Linked DNA regions of Homo sapiens: region 2 is linked to region 1. Evidence: promoter capture Hi-C in human tissues and cell types (Jung and others, 2019). All regions are on one chromosome and are shown on one strand. Each heading gives the region's core, a stretch centred on a gene start or on the middle of the fragment in contact. The rest is flanking DNA. Distances are from core to core; before and after follow the strand shown. Region 1 holds the start of CCDC124 (coiled-coil domain containing 124). Region 2 overlaps GTPBP3 (GTP binding protein 3, mitochondrial).

Evidence for each region. Contacts are between HindIII fragments. The study calls those that stand out against the background at their distance.
Region 2: a contact is called between a fragment that was not itself captured here and the fragment with the promoter of CCDC124 in region 1, in 1 of the 25 tissues and cell types used here (dorsolateral prefrontal cortex).

Annotation. Positions count from the first base shown.
Region 1 is chr19:17,930,496-17,934,875 of GRCh38, reverse strand. CCDC124 (coiled-coil domain containing 124) reads right to left here and starts at 1,861. Exons shown (of 5, transcript NM_001136203.2): 1 at 1,828-1,861. RefSeq lists a silencer at 1,699-1,748 and enhancers at 1,829-2,018, 2,039-2,098, 2,245-2,783. The HindIII fragment of the contact is 29,527 bases long and covers 1-4,380 here.
Region 2 is chr19:17,338,156-17,342,332 of GRCh38, reverse strand. GTPBP3 (GTP binding protein 3, mitochondrial) reads right to left here. Exons shown (of 9, transcript NM_032620.4): 2 at 4,078-4,177; 3 at 3,882-3,968; 4 at 3,592-3,794; 5 at 3,307-3,379; 6 at 3,067-3,210; 7 at 2,734-2,899; 8 at 1,011-1,289; 9 at 1-855. The coding sequence ends at 630. Among named protein-coding and RNA genes, the nearest start is that of GTPBP3, 2.7 kb to the right of the region's middle. RefSeq lists an enhancer at 3,796-4,177. The HindIII fragment of the contact is 4,795 bases long and covers 1-4,177 here.

The sequences.
Region 1 (4,380 bases), core at 612-3,111:
AATGTGGTTGAACCTCAACAACACAATACTAAGTGAAAGAAGCCAGACACAAAAGGCCACACAGTGTGAGAGTACATTTATTTATTTATTTTGGAGACAGGGTCTCACTCTGTCGCCCAGGCTGGAGTGCAGTGGCGAAATCTCGGCTTACTGCAGCCTTGACCTCCTGGGCTCAAGTGATCCTCCCACCTGAGCCTCCTAAGTAGCTGGGACTATAGGTGCAGGCCACCATGCCTAGCTTTTTTTTTTTTTTTTTAAGGCAGGGTCTGACTATGTTGCCCAGGCTGGCCTTGAACTCCTGGGCTCAAGTGATCCTCCCGCCTCGGCCTTCCAAAGTGCTGGGATTACAGGCCTGAGCCACTGCGCCTGGCCCTTCGTTCCTTTTTATGGCTGAATATTCCTCCACTGCATGGATACGCCACATTTTGTTTATCCATTGTCCACAGCTAGACATTTGGGCTGTTTCCACGTTGGGGCTTTTTTTTGTTTTGAGACGGAGTTTTGCTCTTTCACCCAGGCTGGAATGCAGTGGCACAATCTCGGCTCACTGCAACCTCCACCCACCCGGTTCAAGCAATTCTCCTGTTTCAGCCTCCCAAGCAGCTAGGATTACAGGCACCTGCCACCACGCCCGGCTAATTTTTGTATTTTTATAGAGATGGGGTTTCACCATGTTGGCATGTGCCACCATGCCTATCTGATTTTTGTATTTTTAGTAGAGACGGGGTTTCACTATGTTGGCCAGGCTGGTCTCAAACTCTTGACCTCAAGTGATCCGCTTGCCTCGGCCTCTCAAAGTGCCTGGATTACAGGTGTGAGCCACAGTGCCTGGCAATTTCTGCTGTTTAAGCCACCCAGTCTGTGGTATTAGTTATGACAGCCCAAGCTGGAAATACAGACACTTTTCTCTGTGTAGTAAACACTCACTCACTTGCACACGTCATTCAATAAATATGTACTGGGCACCTAATACGTGTGCGATGCTGGGGAAAGAGGTGGCACAAATGAGCTTTCTGCCTGCATGGGACTCCCAGAGAAGAGCCAACACATGCAATCAGAGTCCTAATAAGGACACGCAGGGCGCCGGGGAAGCCCGGAGAGGGCTTCTGACCCAGCCTGGGTCAAAGGGCTTCCTAAAGGAGACATCTAAGGAAAAGTCTGAATGAGTGGGGGAGAGCGCAGCCTGCACGCGGGATGCAGGAGGTAGGCTGGAAAAGGGGGCGATTTGTATTCCAGGGAGATGGGAAGGTGTGGAGGGCGTTAGAGCCGGGAAGCCCAATCTATGGGTCACACAAGCCCTCTGGGGTTAGTGAGGAGGTGGACTCCCCAGATGGCAGGAGCTGGGAGCCCAGGCGGTACCCAGGGAGTGGCTCAGGCTGGGCGAGGGGCACACTTAGAAGCGAATCAAGACCCATGGGGATTAAGACCCCACGGATGTGAAGGTAAAATAACAGAATACAAAATTCAACAATGCCTCCTCTAAGCAGCCCTCCCGGCTATCCCTTTTGAAGTCCCCCACCACTAATCCCCCTACAAGAGGCCGGGGGAGTCCGCGCCCAACTCTGTCCCTCTCGAGACCAGAAGCTGCCTAGGGGCAGTCCGGGGCCAGGTGGCCTCGAACATGCTGTCGCGTCGGGCTTCAATCGTCTAGTCTGGAAATGGGCATCGCCCCCAACTAGGTGCGGTTCAGACTGGACGCCAGAAGTGCTCCTGCCTCCCAGCACCCCTCCTCCAGCCTTCCCAGGGGATGGTCCCAGGCCAAGCAGCCCCCGCCCCGCGCCTCTGCTCCCCGAACCCGGGTTCCGCCCGCGCCGCAGACGCTCCTACCTTCTTACCCCAGCGCCGGCCCGGTCGCGCCTCCGTGACGTCATCATGGGGCCTGCGCGCTGAGCTCCTGGCGGCGCGCACTCATTGCGCCTCAGTACCGCCGCCATTTTGGTAAAGAAAAAGATGGCTGGGCCTCGGACCCAAGCCAGGGTAGTCAGCCACTTCTTTGTCTCTTCAAAAAGAGGACACTTAATACGCCCTCATTCCCTACGCTCATTTAATATGTTGATGAACCAGGAGGGGCGGGCAGAGGCGAAAATCTAGAACATTGCCTTTACCAAGATGGCCGATGCCCGGATGAAAGATGGCAGCTGCGACTACACACGTGGTCCGGCGGCTTCAGCCTGGAGCGGCCCGGCCGCCAGAGCGCGCCCGCGGTCCATGAGGGGAGGTGGACCCAGTATAGCCCTGAGGAAGCCTCTCCGTAGCTCTTCGCAATCCCTTAACGCTTTAAAAGTGCTTTCCTAGTCCTGAGTCTCTGCGTCCCACTGGTGACGCTGGGGCGGGGCTAGGAGAGGGGAGATAAATGGGGCAGAGAAATTAACACACACCGCGCAGTCCAGGTAGGGAAACCGAGGCTCAGAGAGACCAGGAATTGAGTTTGGCCAAAATGTAACCGCGAGTAGGCTCATAACCGCGAGTAGGCTCAAATTCCGTCTCTTGCTCCTGCCAGTGCCTCTTCCTGGATTGCTGACCTGCTCCCCACTTCTGCAATATTATTTATTAATTTTATTTAGAAATTAGGTTTGAGGCGCCAATTTGTCTTAGGCACTATACTTTAGATTTTCTGCATTTACTACTTCTCGGTGTTCTCAACAGTAAAAATGGCAGTATTAGGGGTCTAAGGTTACACTGGTCCTGACTGTGGAGAGGGAAAAGCAAATGCTTTGGGGGCAGTTCAGGTAGGAGTAGTTGACCACAGAGTCCATTCCCTAAAAGGCATCCCCCCAGCGACCTTGCTGGGACCTAAATCCCAGTGCGCGATGCACCTCCCCTGCTCTAACGCCTCCCCTGGGTTCCCATTGTCCCGCAAGACTCCTCCCACCTCCCACCCCATCTCCCTTGGCTTCCCTCACCCTCCCATTAGCTCTCTGCTCAGGTCGCACCAGCCCCCTTCTTACAAATTGCCAGGCGCAGTCTTGCCTCAGGGAGTTCCCCCAGGAATTTCCCAGGTTTTTCCGTGGCCAGTTCCTTCCCTTCAGGCATGAGACAGAAAGGTCTCTGGGTGCAGGGGGCTTAAAGTCGGAAAATCACATGAAAGATTATTATCCTGGCTGGTCGCAGTGGCACATGCCTGTGATCCCAACCCTTTGGAAGGCTAAGGTGGGAGGATCGCTTGAGGCCAGGTGTTTGAAAGCAGCCTGGGCAACATTATGAGACCCCATCTCGACAGAAGATAAAAACATTAGCTGGGCGTGGTGGCATGCTCATCCTCCCATTCAAGAGAATCACTTGAGCCCAGAAGTTGGAGGGTGCAGTGAGGTATGATAGCGCCACTGCACTCCAGCCAGCCTGGGTGAAGGAACCTCTCTTAAAAAATACTAATAAAGGCCAGGCATGGTGGCTCACGCCTGTAATCCTAGCACTTTGGGAGGCCGAGCCAGGCAGATCACCTGAGGTCAGGAGTTTGAGACCAGTCTGACCAACATGGTGAAACCCTGTTTCTACTAAAAACACAAAAATTAGCTGGGCGTGGTGGCACATGCCTGTAATCCCAGCTACTTGGGAGGCTGAGGCAGGAGAATCACTTGACCCCAGGAGGCAGAGATTGCAATGAGCCGAGATCGTGCCATTGCACTCCAGCCTGGGCTACAGAGTGCAACTCCATCTCAAAATAAATAAATAAATAATAATAATAAAGGCCAGGCGTGGTGGCTTATAGCTGTAATCCCAGCACTTCAGGAGACTGAGGCGGGCAGATCACTTGGTGAGTAGTTCAAGACCAGCCTGGCTAACATGGTGAAACCCCATCTAAAAATTACCCAGGCGTGGTGGCATGCGCCTGTAATCCCAGCTACTTGGGAGGCTGAGGCAGGAGAATCGCTTGAACCTGGGAGGCAGAGGTTGCAGTGAGCTGAGATCACGCCACTGCACTGCAGCCTGGGTGACAGAGTAAGACTCTGTCTCAAAAGTAATAATAATAATAATAACAATAAAATAATAATCGTAATTGTGACTAAAAGATGTGCCTGGGGTTGAAATAGGGTTGTGGAGGCCCACAGCCTGGGTGATCAAAGAGGGCTTCTCAGAGGTGGTGGCATTTAAGGAGAGCTCTGAAGCTTGAGAAGGAAAGAGCTGAGTGAAAAAGAGAGGGAAAGGTGTTCTGGGCAGAGGGAACAGTATATGCAAAGGTGAGGAGGTGAATATAAAGTGAGGAAGATAAAAGTAGCCCTGGACCACACACAGTCAGCTAGCAGTTGGCCTGGCAGTCACAGCTAAACTGTAGAGTTTTTTGATTGACCAAACCAATTTCACGGAATGTCCACATCAGACAGGGACACTCAGACCAGTCACACTTGGCCGCAGAAAAACAAAACCCTTCCGTAATCGAGT
Region 2 (4,177 bases), core at 1,135-3,634, 590 kb after region 1:
TCGCACCACTGAACTCCAGCCTGGGTGACAGAGCGAGACTCTGTCTCAAAAAAAGAAAAAAATTAGCCGGGCATGCTGGCACATGCCTGTAATCCCAGCTACTCAGGAGGCTGAGGCAGGAGAAGCGCTTGAGCCCCGGAGATGGAGGTTGCAGTGAGCCAAGGTCGCACCACTGCACTCCAGCCTGGGCAATAGACAGAGGAGGGAAGGGTAGGGGAAGGGGAAGGGGAAGGGGAAGGGGAAAGGGAAAGGGAAAAGGAAAGGGAAGGGAAGGGAAGGGAAGAAAATAAACACTTCTAGATCACCTGAGTTTTTTTTACATTCCTTTGGTATTTGCAAAATAAATAAAAAACTACGAAACAAATATACTGAGATCCTCCTATCTCCATCCCAACCCGGATGCCCCAGCATCAAGGGTCGAACGGGACCTCCATTCAGCCCCATTCCAGGGCCTGAATCTCCAGGGAGTCCCTGCAGGGATCTCACTACCTCTCAGCTGTGTTGCTTCACTATTTGAGAATCAAGTTCTTTCCCAGGCGAATGAGAATCCCAATTGGCCTAAACTGTTTCCAGATCCCCCGAGGCTCCTGGGTCTCCACGCAGCTTGGGTGCGACTTCCCTGGATCCCGTCACTTGCCCACACAGAAGTCCTGGAAGATGATGTCCAGGATCTCCTCGGTACCCCCTCCACCTGTGAGCCGGGTCAGGTGACCCCGGGCCACCCGCAGCGCCTCTGCCGCCAGGGCCAGGTCTTTTGACTGCTTGTAGTGGCCGAGGGCATCCAGGCAACCCTGGAGGTGGTGCTGGTGCCTTGCTCGGGTCAGCAGCGGGGGATCTGTGGACGGGTCCCCACACCTGGAAGAGACAAGAGACATGGTCTCTCCCGACCTTTTACAACCATCCCTTGAAGGGGAAATGGTTGTACCCATTTTGTAGGTTCAGAAATTGAAGTTGAGGGACCCACACTTAAACTGTGGGTCAGGGGAGGCTGGGAGTGGGAGGGGGCTCACACTGCAGCTAGCTCCTTCCTCAGCGCCTCCAGGAGGCCGTCCAGCCCCTCTCCCGTCAGACAGGACAGCAGCAGGTGCGGGGGCAGGTCAGGACCGGGACCTGGGCCCTCCGGGGACAGCAGGTCCGACTTGTTCAGCACCAGGAGGAGGCGCTGGCTGCTGTCACTGGGGCTCTGGGCTCCCACAGAGGCTACGACGGTGGCCAGGAAGTTGCAACTGGAGGGAGAGGCCAGGTCAGAAGCATCCAGCATGGCCAGAATGAGGTCAGCCTGCTCTAGCCTGCGGGAGCAAGGTCAACTGAGCGGGGATCCCAGGTTGAGCAATTGAAGGCACTGGGTGGAGGGACAGTTAGAGGGGCCAGGCAGAGCACTGGGGGAGCTGCGAAGCGTGAGGTCGGGAGGGAGGAGTAGAGTACCAGGGGACCGGCAGAATGTTGGGGGCCCAAGCCGAGCACAGGGGGTGGGGCAGAGCAAGAGGGGCGGGGCACAGTGCAGGGGGAAGGGCAGAGCAAGAGGAGCGGTCACGGTGCGGGAGCGGGGCAGAGCAGGAGGGGCTGGGCACAGTGCAGTGAGTAGGGCAGGGCAGGAGGGGCGGGGCACAGCACAGGAGGGCGGGGCAGAGCAAGAGGGGCAGAGCACTGTGCAGGGGGAAGAGCAGAGCAAGAGGGACAGGGCACAGCACAGGGGCTGGGACAGAGCAAAAGGGGCCGGGTACAGCACTGGAGTGGGGCGACCATGAGTGGCGGGGCAGAGCAAGAAGGACCAGACACACCACAGGGTAAGGGGTAGAGAGCACCAGGGGTGGGGCAGAATGTAGGGGGTGGACAGAGCACAGGGGATGGGATAGACCGCAAGGGGCAGAGCGGAGTGCCAGGGCGGGACAGAGCACGAGAGGGCGGGGCAGAACGTGAGGGCTGGGCGGAGGGCTTAGGGATGAGAAACATGTCCGGAGGGCCGGGGGCAGGACTTAATCAGAACTAAATCACTGGCCGGGCACAGTGGCTAACGCCTGTAATCCCAGCACTTTGGGAGGCCGAGGCAGGCGGGTCACCTGAGATCAGGAGTTCGAGACCAGCCTGGCCAACATGGTGAAACCCCCATCTCTACTAAAAATACAAAAAATTAGCCTGGCATTGTGGTGGGCGCCTCTAATCCCAGCTACTCGGGAGGCCCAGGCAGAAGAATCACTTGAACCCGAGAGGCGGAGGTTGCAGTGAGCCGAGATTGTACCACTGCACACTCCAGCCTGGGCAACAAGAGCGAAACTCCGTCTCAAAAACAAAAACAAAACACCAGGCCAGGTGCGGTGGGCTCACAACACTTTGGGAGGCCGAGGCTCAGGAGTTAGAGACCAACCTGGCCAACATAGTGAAACCTCATCTCTACTAAAAATACAAAAAAAAAAAAAAAATAGTTCGGCGTGGTCGCTCCCGCCTGTAATCCCAGCTACTTGGGAGGCTGAGGCAGGAGACTTGCTTGAACCCGGAAGACAGAGCTTGCAGTGAGCTGAGATACCGCCACTGCACTCCAGCCTGGGCGACAGAGCAAGACTCGGTCTCGGAGTAAAAAAAAAAAAAAAAAAAAAGAACCAAATCCCTGAGATCCATGCTTGATAGGGCTTAGCAGGTTCTCTGATTCAGGAAGAATGAAAAATAAACGCAACAGGGAGAAAAGGCAGAGAAAGGGCCCCGCGTTCCCCTCCCATCACCACCCTGTCCGCCCACCTCTCCCGGGCGCGCCGCACGCCCTCCTGCTCCACGGGCCCCACGCCCTCCCGCAACCCAGCCGTGTCGCTCAGCAGCACAGGAAATCCGGCCAGGTCGACTGGGGTCTCCAGCACGTCACGGGTGGTCCCTGGCTCCGGGGACACGATGGACACAGGCTTCCGACCTGGGGGAGGGTCAGAAGAAGAGGAGAGGGTGGAGACAAGGGAGCTCCTCCCCCAGGTTCTACCCCATGTCTGGAGGGAGCTTTAGACCTGAACAACTAACTCAATAACCCAGCTCTTGGCCCCGCCCCTGGCACTAGGCCCCGCCCCCTTCCCGCCGCCTACTCACTGAGCAGGTTCACTAGGCTGCTCTTGCCCGCATTGGGGGGTCCAGTGACCACTACGTGCACCCCTGAGCGGAGCCTCTGCCCGCGCCTGGCATCTCGTAGATGTGCACCCAGGGCCACCTGCAGTGCCCGTACTTCGATGTCGGCTGTGGGTGAGAGAAGGCAGGCAGAGAGAGACAGTGAGGGGAGCCTTTGAGGGCTGATATGAGGTGTCTTCCTCCCCCACCACCAGGTAGACCCACCTTGCTCCAGGACCCCCTCCTCCAGGTTGTCATCCTCGCCGAAATCGATATAGGCCTCCACGTGGGCCAGAGCCTGGCGGGGCAGGGAGAGCAGAGGTGGTGTGTGCACCCAGAAACCCACCTTCCCACACCCAATTTGTCCAGCCCGACTTCAGGGGCCAGAATGGCGGCTCATAGGCCGGAAGCTTTCACGCAGGGAATGAATGCGGGATTGAGAGGGGGTCTCATGCAGGGGTTGCACAGATGGGGTCTCTGAGGGAGAGAATGGACAAATGGGGGACTTGCTTTGGTGAGGGTCTCGGCCCAGCCACGGCAGAGGTGGCCCAGCTCTCCGTCCAGCTGCCTGAGGGCCTGCCGCCGCTGCGCCTCTGTTTCCGCGTGGATAAGGTCCGCCAGCCCCTCCACTTCGGTCAGGTTCAGCTTCCCATTGGCGAACGCCCGTCTGGTGAACTCGCCTGCCTCCGCCGGTCGAAGCCCTGGCACGCTGCCTGCAGGAAGGTCCCAGTCTGACACCCCCTGGTCCCCACCCAGGCCCATTGGGAGGACCAAGCATCTCACCCAACGCTGCAACTCACCCAAGGCCTGCAGGACGCCGCTCACCACTGCCGGGCCTCCATGCACGTGGAACTCCACGCAGTCCTCACCGGTGAAACTCTGGGGACCTAATGTGACAGACAGGTGACAGGAGGACAGCACAGCCAGTGCAAACCCTTGGAAGGGGGAAACTGAGTCATGGGACCTACAGGAGGCTCGGAACCTGGGGACCCTCACCTGGGAACCAGAGCACCAGTGCGCGGTCCAGAGGCTCCCCGGAGCGGGGATCGCTGAGCAGGCGCAGGCTGGCGTGGCGAGCAAGGGGCAGGTCTCGGGG